Linked DNA regions of Homo sapiens: region 1 is linked to region 2. Evidence: promoter capture Hi-C in human tissues and cell types (Jung and others, 2019). All regions are on one chromosome and are shown on one strand. Each heading gives the region's core, a stretch centred on a gene start or on the middle of the fragment in contact. The rest is flanking DNA. Distances are from core to core; before and after follow the strand shown. Region 1 overlaps SGIP1 (SH3GL interacting endocytic adaptor 1). Region 2 holds the start of SGIP1 (SH3GL interacting endocytic adaptor 1).

The links. Contacts are between HindIII fragments. The study calls those that stand out against the background at their distance.
Region 1: a fragment that was not itself captured here is called in contact with the fragment with the promoter of SGIP1 in region 2 in 1 of the 25 tissues and cell types used here (hippocampus).

Annotation. Positions count from the first base shown.
Region 1 is chr1:66,582,496-66,587,675 of GRCh38, reverse strand. The region is part of intron 1 of SGIP1 (SH3GL interacting endocytic adaptor 1); the gene reads right to left. Among named protein-coding and RNA genes, the nearest start is that of MIR3117, 43 kb to the left of the region's middle. The HindIII fragment of the contact is 8,908 bases long and covers 1-5,180 here.
Region 2 is chr1:66,530,947-66,536,098 of GRCh38, reverse strand. It overlaps SGIP1 (SH3GL interacting endocytic adaptor 1), which reads right to left and starts at 1,946. Exons shown (of 25, transcript NM_032291.4): 1 at 1,731-1,946. The coding sequence starts at 1,740. The HindIII fragment of the contact is 7,701 bases long and covers 1,094-5,152 here.

The sequences.
Region 1 (5,180 bases), core at 2,257-4,756, 50 kb before region 2:
AGAATTAGCAGTATCCTAGAATGTTCACATAAGCACTGGCAGTCTAGGAACCTAGTTAGGATTAAGCAATAATAAGCCTAATTCTAATCTGTTATGAACAGGGGTTTTCAACGTAACAAGAGGCCCCAAAAAAGTCATATAAACACTGCAGGGATTGGATTAGAAAGTTGATTTATTTCATCTGAATAATATAATCTGAAATAAAAAGCTCAGTGGATGGCTCAATAACAGAAAAGAATCAGTGAACCAGAAGATAAAACAATAGAAATTACCAAATCAGAAAATAGAGAAAATAGACTGAGAAAAAAAAAATGAACAGAGCCTTAAGGACATGTGAGACTATAACAAAATAGTTATCATTTGGAGTCTCAGAAGGAGAGAAGAAAGAAGGCATAGCTGAAAAAGTAGATGAAGAAATAAGGGCTTAAAATTTTCTACATTTGTCAAGATACACAAACTCACAGATTCAAGAAACTGAGCAAACTCTAAAAAGGATAAACCCAAAGAAATGATATATGCTGTGATTGAAATTCTGAAAATTAAATACAAATAATAAATTCTTAAAAGAAAACAGAAAAAAATGACATGATAATTGTAGGAAAGAAACAATTCTAATGACAGCAGATTTCTTATCAGACACTGTGGAGACTAGAGGAAAGCAGGACAATATCTTTTAAGTGCCAAGACAAACTAAACAACAACAAAAAACTACCATCAACTCAGAATTTACTACCCAGTGAGCACATCCTAAAGAAATGAATGAAAATCAAGACATTCTTTGATGAAAGAAAAGTAAGAATTTATCACCAGCAGACCTACTCTAAAAAAATAGCTAAAGGAGATGCTCTAAATAGAAGGAAAAAATAAAAGAAGAAAATGTAGAACATTAGGAAAGAAGAAAATAGCACAGTAAACAAAAATATGGGTAAATATAATAGGCTTTCCATCTTCTCTTGAGCTTTATAAATTATTTTTGGTTGTTTATGCAAAAATTATAATACTTTCTGATGTGGTGCTAAAAGCATATAGAGGAAATATTTAAAACAATTGTATCACAAATTGGGAAGGATTAAAGGGCATAAAGGAAAGTAAGGTTTTATACTTTACTCAAATTGGTAAAATGAAGACATTGGTATACAGTAATAAGTTATGTAAATATGATGTAATATCTAGAGCAGCCACTAGAAATTCTATGCAATGAGATACACTTAAAAACATTATATAATTCTGAAAAAACATGTTCAAGTAACCTTCAGGAAGGCAGGAAAGAGAAAACGGAAATGAGGAAACAGAAAAGAAACAAAAATTGCCATAGTTAAACTCTAATCAGTTATATTAAGTGTAAGTAAGTGTCCTAAATATACCAACTAAAAGATAAAGATTGGTCAAGGGGATTTAAAAATATGACCCATCTATATAATGTGTACAAGAAACTCACTTCAAATATAATAACCTAGGCAAATTGAAGGCAAAACATGGGAAAATATATTATGAAGACATTGATCATGGGAAAAAAGGACTAACTTAGTATCAGATAATGTAGACATCAGAACAAGAAAAATTGCTGAAGGCATAAAGCAAAATTATATAATGATAAAAGAGACATTAGCAATTCTTAATGTTTAGGCACTAAACAATAGAGCTGCAGAATATGTGCAACAAAAATTGATAGAACGGAAAGAAGAAAAAGACAAATCCACAATTGTAGTTGGAGACTTTAAGACCTCTTTCTCAAGAATTGGTAAATCAATTAGACAGAAAATCACTAAATTATTTTCGCAGAGCACTTGGAGACAGTATTAAACTTGGAATTTCTCTAACACATACTCTTTCATAAGCATGGAACTTGGTATTCACTGGATTCCTTAGAAAACTCCAAAGCTCTTGGCCTGGCACAGTGTCTCATGCTTGTAATCTCAGCACTTTGGGAGGCCAAGGTGGGTGGATCACCTGAGGTCAGGAGCTCAAGACCAGCCTCGCCAACACGACGAAACCCTGTTTCTACTGAAACAAAACAAAACAAAACAAAAAACCACAAAAATTAGCTGGGTGTAAAATAACAAAAAACAAAAACAAAACAAAACACACACACACACACACACACAAACTCCAAAGCTCTTTTTAATTTTTCTCAAAATAGCACTGCCCATAGTGGGAGGGCTTAAAGAGTCACCCTGCTTTCTCACGGACTTTAAAATCTGCAGATCCAAAGTTAGCATAACTTGATATCCTAGACCTATTCCATGCAGAAGGAAACGTTCTGACATGTCACAGCACAAAAGTAAAGTCTCAGACTCCATGAGGGAAGGCCTAATAGACATTAAACTTAAGGCAGATACAAAAACAGTGGATCAAAGTCTCAGGAATGTAGAGTTCAGCACAAAACAAATGTAAGATTATAGAGGACTGTCAAAAACAATAAAACAGAACAAAACAAACTAGAACATGGCTAAGAATGCAAGAAGCACCATAGAGAAGGGCACATGTGAAATGATTAATAAGGAAAGGCCTCCAGCCAAGATAGAAAATCATCCTGTGACCAGAGGTAAAGGCACAGAGCAGGAGATAGACCCAGAGGGAAGAAATAATTATGATAATGGAAGAAAACACACATGTGACTGGAACATAGTTCAAGGAAGACTTCCAGGTAGAAATGTTGCCTGAATTCAGTTCAAGGGAAAGAGTAAGAATTTACAATGCTTGTTCTTTCTTTTTGTTTTGAGGGAGAAGGGTGGTATACTTAGCTGCCAGTCTATAGTTGTGTGAAACATTTGAGAAGGGCATGAAGAAAGGTCAACACAGCACTGGTGTCAGGAAAACACTAAGCACCAGGAAAGAAATCCCCACATGTTCATCTATCATATTTGCTGAATAATACCCAGGAGCACAGAAATTTGGCTACAGGGAAGAAGGTTTTGCTTGCTTCATATACCTACCACTATCTTAAAGCTGTTCTCTGTTAATTAAACATAGTGCATTAACCTGTTAAAATTACTGTCAAGTTTCAGATATCCCTAGATGTATACCAATATGGGAATCCTTGAAAATTACAACCTGCTAAGGAAGCTAACATAGTACAGTATTGACCTGAGTGATTCTAGTTCATGAAAAAAGAAGAAAAAACCCAACTTGTGAACATTTAGATCAGTTTAAATGTCCTTGTTTGCATTTGGTGTTACTGAGCTTCCTGGAGCTAGAGAAATTTTAACATGGGTTAGAGGATTTTTAACAGGGGCTACAGAAGAGATATTTGCACTGTTAGGCAATGGAATGGATAACCTGTGAAGTCCTTTCCAACTTAAAGATTCAGAGATTTGCTTCTCTTTGAGGAACATAAATTTATTTATCTAGGTATTGGAGAATCCAAACAGCATCTGATAAGCATTTATTATCTTCAAGGGCTATGGCTGATGCTTACTAACATTCAGCTTAATTTAAACTTTATTTCTTTTTAGCACCTATACTAGATATAGGTATTGAAAATATGGAGATTATTGAGATACAATTCATAAATTCAAGAAGCTTATAGTCTAATTGGAAGTAGACACCAAACCAACAATTTCACTTTAATCAGACAAGCCTCTGGTACCATTTCAAAGATAAATAAAAGCAACAACACCAACAAAACAGGCCTCTAAGGATTCTACTTACTAATTTACCTCAAATGCATTTCTTGGGAATCACTGGCTTCCTGTTGGAACTAGACTCTTCAGCAAAAATGTCCCAAGTTTAGCCAAGTACAACTTTTAGTTCACCATAGAGATGAAACATTAACCTTTATGAACCAAAGCTAAAGCCATGCAACAAAAATTTATTGAGCAGGTATTATGTGTTGACTACTGTACTAGGAGAGACGGCATCAAAGATGAATAACATTCCTCCCTTCATGGGGCTGATAATCAGTGATGCAGACAGGAGCAAGCTATGTGAACAAATGCAATACGAAGTGACTAAGGAGTATGCAGAAGAAGGACACTACTAATTCGGATGTAGGAGGGAAATAAATGGGGAATAGGAAGGCTTATCCAAGGATGTAAAATGAAGCACAGCTGAGGCTGCAAAAGAGTTTCCTCTTAAGTTTACCTAATGAAAGGGTATTTGGGCTTAAAGGATTGTGCTTGAATGTTTATGAACTAAGGAACTTGTATTTTTTTATGAAAATAAAAATGAGGATCATGAATTTCTGCAAAGGTGAAACCAGCCTTTGAGCAAATAGTTAATCCCAGTAGTTGACAAGAACGAAAGTGCGTAAGAGCAAACTAAGGAAGTAAGTGCAATGCAGTTATTGGGGCCTACTCCCCAAGACTCAGTAGGATGGGGTGAATCTGAATTTATAATAAGCACTTTAAAATTTTCCAGTGCAAACATTACATAGACTACACTTTGAGAATATTTTAGATGTATCCCAACTTTCCTACTACTAGGAAAAGCGCTAATGGCTCATCTCTTGCACAATTCCATCTTTCAGTCTCATCAAAACCACGTAAACTTTTCTGACTTACTATTACAGCTGAATTTTTTATTTATATAGCATAGACATATCTCACTTTCTCCTTGAGAAATACTTTGTAGGTGGTATCTAAAAAGCCATGTGTAATTCAGATATTTATCAATCAATTGATGTCAAACACATCAGAGATTTGATATATATAAAAATGTTATAAATATGTGTGAAATAAAATCATCTAATTTTTGTACAAATCCAAATTTAAGTTGAGTTTGCTTTAAAAGCAACATATGCCTGTAGATTATGTTGCTTCTTTTTTTTTTTCCTAGCATACAGCATCTTGTTGCCCCTCTGTTAAACAAAGATCTAAGGATTTAAGAATGAGAATCTGGGGCTAATTTATCTTAACAAAATCCTAAATTGTTCAAGGTGGATCATCTTTCTGAAGAACCATATACTTTGATATACTTATAGGCATATTTGTCTCACATTCTCATTGATAAATAGTTTTTAGGCAGCATCTAAAAAAAGCCATGTGTAATTCAGATATTTATGAATCAATTATCAATTATTTCTAATATAATTATGATGTTTATTTCATGCACTGATGACTCTAATTACTTCCTACATCTTTGACTGGAAACTGTTAACTCCTTTTCCACTGACATAAATTGGCAAAGCCCTTTACAAAAAAAAAAAATCATCTTCAGCCACTGAAGTGTATTTTCCTCTC
Region 2 (5,152 bases), core at 697-3,196:
CTGACATTCTTGGATGGCACAATAGACCATATTACCAGGAGAATCATTCATGAGCATCAAAAAACGTTACAACCTTCAAAGAAGATACTTTAGTGCCATGGTTTGCAAGGCAAGAAGTGAAAAGAAAGAGCATCCAATTCTCTATGCAACACTGAAATCTAATCAGAATGTGTGCAGATGCATTTTTAAGAAAGCTATATGAAGTTGAGCTGGAGAAATACAGTACCTCTACAGGCAAGATATTTTTTCTGAAGAAGATAATCCACATGAGCTTTTAATTGAAAAGTGCATAAATAACACTCTGTCTTGCCTTGTTATTCAAAGATTAAATCAATTTTGAATTAATGAAAATGATTTAATCTGAGAGTGTTAGCAATCTCAATTTATTTAGGCCTGGATTTAAAGGGCTAGCTTGAGAGCCTTTTGCAAACAAGACTCAGCTCCATAACAAAATCATACCCAACCTCTCTTTTAAGGCTATCTTCTAAAATCTGTGGGTTTTGACTCTAGAATTCTTCACTCCCCCAAATCACATTAACAATGTTTGACATGATGACAGGGAGAGCAAAAAGAATTCATTTCTGCCAAATAAGTACAGGCTACACTGCTGTTTTTATGAAACCTTCCTCCTCTTATTCCATTTTGGTAAATTTCTAAGGAATAGTTAAAATCCGTAGGACAAACCTTGGCTTAAGAGGTGGCCTCTCTGCCATTTTCATGGCTGATTTGAGACCCATTATGCACTCAATTCTGCATTGTGAAATCCAGGCTGGGGACAAATTTCTGCCTGTCATCTTAGGAAAGGCCAGGAGTTTTGCACCATCCTATAGTGTGAAAACAGAAAATCAAAGCCTGCATAGAGCTGCTTGCTTCTTTCCTGATCAGCTTGCTGCTTTTTGGAGACAATCTTGGCTGTCACAGTGTCAGACTGGGAAGGGTAATTTAGCAGAATAAAATATAGTTTAAATAGCATCTCTCCAGGGAAAGTTCCTCCTTACACTCAATATTGAATATGCGAAAAGATCATCAGCAAATAATCATTTGATACTTGGCTAAAATCCATTGGACAGGGAAAGCATTTAGGGAGCACAAAATTCTTTTTTAACCTGATAAGACCCCGAATCAGGAGGCAAGAGGCCCGGATATTTTCCTTATATTTTTCATTCTGTTGCAATGACATTCTCATACAACTACAGTTTATGGACCAAATTTGCTGCCCTCCCCATCCCAATAATATGATGTAAACTGCAGAGATAAAAATACCTTATGAGAATTTTTACAATTTTAAACAGTTCACTGAAAATGTCTGTATGGATAACTCTGTTAATGACCTCTCCTGTCTAATGTCAATTTCAGAAAACAAGTTTCCATTGTAAATGTTTAATCAGTGTAGTCCCAGGAACCCAGAACAGAAAACCTTATCTTCTCGCCCAACTTATTTGCTCTGCAAGCTCTTTCCTAGCTCCATCTCAGCTCCCTGCAAACACTTTAGGCTTTTCTCTCTCAAAGGAGCTGGGAGCTCTGTAGGTTCTGAGCTAGGCAGCAGCCCTGTGGTTTGATTCCATTAGTCTGAGCCCAGATCCACTGCAAGCAAACTGCAGCATTTCTGCTTGCAAAACATTGGCAACCAGGTTCTAGAACCGCCACATACACTGGCTGCACATATTCTTTAATGCTGTTCTGCCCAAACCTTGCCTGAAGCCAGTCAACCATAGCAGAAAGCATCCTACCTTCCATCATGGTGGCAGAATTGCATTCCTTAATTTCCAAGGAGTCTGAAAAAACACAGGAGGATACGATTCCAGGTCCCAGCTAAGTCCTCACCACGCCGCTGCTGAGGTCTATTCCGTCCGCTGTCAAAGCCAAAGGAGATAAGTGTTAAGCCAAAAGACAGGCCATGGATGCTGCTGGTGCTTCTTCACCTACAGGCAGGCTACCAAGAAGATGCTGAGAGAAAGGGAGAGGAACGGCAAGCTGGCCGAGCTGCACCGCCTGCGCTGCCTCGGCCAATCCCTTCAGCTTTGGACCGCGTCACATGGTAGCCAGCCTGCATCTCCTGACACAATACCCCCGGAGAGCACACAGAACCTATTTCCCGTCCCCATTCCCCTCCACCCCCATCGCCTCCCGCTTGTCACCAAATACACAGCCCCTTCCCCACCTGGTGACGCACTTCCCCCGCCCCTCCTCGTCGTCTCCTTAAGCTTACAGAAGCGGCTGGGTGCCCGAGATTAGTTATCAAGGGCTGCCACCTTAACAGGGGACTCTGGCGTGAAAGCAGCACCTAAGTGGCTCGCTGCGGAGGGGGTTCTTTTCTTTTTCTTTCTTTCTTTCTTTTTTTGTTTTTTTAAGAAAAACTTAATAATTCCGTGCAGCCGGAAATCTTAGCAACACACTTCTAAGCTCCCATTCCGGTGTCCTTTTACCCTGAAGGAATTCCAAATGTCAGTGTCTGTGGCCTCCGTGCACATCTGTGCGTCTCTCTCTCTCTCCGTCTCTCTTTCTCCCCTCCCATCCTTCATTCAAGAGAGAAAAATCAATCCGACTGACGTCACATCATAAACATCCCCAAAAGGATGATGCAGAAGAAATTTCACCCCAGCTGCCTTCGTGAGAGCCAGGGAATTAATTGCGCATGACATGCTGAAGGGCTGGGAACTGTCATTAAAACAAAGAAACAAAAGAACCCACCCGAGTGGGGCTCTGGAATCAAACTGGCAACGCTCGAGATCGTTTCTGGGGCGGGAGGCTGGAAAGGGGAGCAGGCAGGGAGCGGAAGCCTGAGCCCGACCAAAGACAGCTGTGCACGCCGGCTCCCTCCCACTCCAACCTGGGCTCGCCGTCCGGGCTACAGACGGGACCCTGCGGGGCGCCCTTCGACGACCGAGTTCGAGTCCCGCCGCCACCGCGTCCTCCCCGCCGAGCGCACACGGGAGCGGCCTCGCTTCCCCAGGTGGGGAGCTTTTCTCGCAACCGACTGGGGCTGCAGCTGCCAACTGCAGTCTCTGTAGGAAACAAACTTTCTCCTAAATGACACGTTTCTCCGCGACGCGCCTCCTGCATCTGGAGTCGCCTTCAAGCCTATTCATTCACCCAAGTGGAAACCTGGAGGGAGGCAGTTGTGCCTGGTTGTGGCGGAGCCCAGGGTTTTGAAGCTGCCAGGAATGGGATCTGGGGGCTGTGTAGTTGCCTAAGTGGGAAGTTGTGTCACTGGGCCCGGTTGGGTTCAGTCTGTCACCTGACTGCTCTCCAGAGACCATGGAGCCTTTCAGAAGGGCCCAGCCCTGGGGGATCTACGACCCTTGGTTCCCTTCAAGAAAGCTCAGACAGCGAAGGAAGAAAAGGGCAGGGCAGCCTATGAGAGAGAGAAGGCAGAGAAAAAGGAAAGGAGATGGGAGGAAAGGGAACGCCTTCTTTAGAACTCAGGAAAAACAACATCAGAAGTGGGCATTTCTCCCTGTATAATCTCACAGTATGACCAGGAGAAAAGCTGTTACAATAGAGAGCAATTGTGAGCATCCAATGAAAATGTACTCAAAATAACTGGAAGAAGATGCATGGTATGATCAGGGTTGAGCCTGTAATGTATTATTAATCATTTCTATTAGCAATATACTCATGAACTTTTTCTATTGCTCAGCCCTGGACATGGCCTAGCTCTTTCTACCAAAGCAAATATGACGTACTGGTGACTGACTGAAGTAGCATATTAATAGTTGAAAAGCAAAACACAGCTCCTTAGCAATTTAGAAGTTTTGAAAAACCCATTGTTCTCCCTAAGGACACATACTTCAGTGGCCTCTAAATTTTAAAATGAAATTCTTCAGGGAGATACAAATACTTGTGACTTTTTTCTTATGTCTCTAAGACAGTTAAATTTTAAAAGGGGAATGAATTCCTAAGTAAAACCTGCCTTGAGTACAACTTACACTGCTCTGAAAACTGGAGGGGTATTATTGCAAAAAGGATTGATTTGTGTGTGTGTGTGTGCATGTGTGTGTGTGTTTAGCAAATGTTTTGTAATGATTAAGAACATTGATGGGTATTCGTGTCAAATAGATGGGCACCAAGTTTTGTTTGTGCCACATAATGAGCTCTGTGACTCTGAGCAATTTATGTAATTCTCTGTGCCTCACAGTTTTCTTATCCTGAAATGGAGAGAATAATAATGCCAAGTTAATTGAGCTATAAATGGTAATAATAACAAACCTGTATTAATGGCTTACTATGTGCCAGACAGTATTCAAATACTCTGCTAGTAAATTACTTAGCATTTTGTCTGGAGCATAATAAGACCTGCATGTTAGCTTTTTAGTATTAGTATTATTACTACCAAAGGGCTGGCAGATGCATCAAAGAAGTTTGCAGCCAACTGGGAGTTGTACCAAATGCACAGAGAACAAGTTAGTGAAAGACCAGGTGATGCATCCAAAGATGTAACATGTTGGAGATTTCTGAAAGGCTGCTAAGTAGGAAATCAAAATCTAATGAGGTTAATTAGGAAAGACTTTTTTTTTTTTTTTACAGAGGTGAAATTTCAGAGTTCAGAACTTAATTGGAATGGGCTTGAAGTGGTAGTTCTAAAGAATATAGGGAGTTGTAAGTAAGAAAAAAGTATCATGTAAAATCTGGAGGTGAGTGCAAGCACTGAGGTGCAGGAGTGGGGGCCATTGTTAGGATGTAAGGGAAAGGTGGAGAAACCCAGGCTGCCTGCCTTCTTCCTCCCAATGTAAGTTTTACAGTGTGTTAGAGCAATCCTCTCAGATAGGTTTGGTATGGGTACACTTCAAGTTTTTTTAGACTTGCAGCAACTATCTAGAGACAGCAAGTCAATGGAAAGATTCTTTTGGTCAATGACTATTTATAGGAAAAGCAGAAGTTTGTAGATATTGTCAGAAAGGGATGTGTATTTCAAGGTGGTAAAGCTAATCCCAAAGGCTAAACTTCACCGCAACTTCATCAGTTGTGTGTATTTTATCCTTTAAAAAGAAGATGCTATTACCAATAGCATATCCAATAGAACATCCAATGAATGAAGTTCTGTTTCAATAAAATTTGCTCAAATATGTAATCAAAAGAGATTATCCTAATTGTGGTGTTTTCTCATAGGTTTTTTTCTTTTTATTTTCTTCTTCTTCTTTTTTTTTTTTTT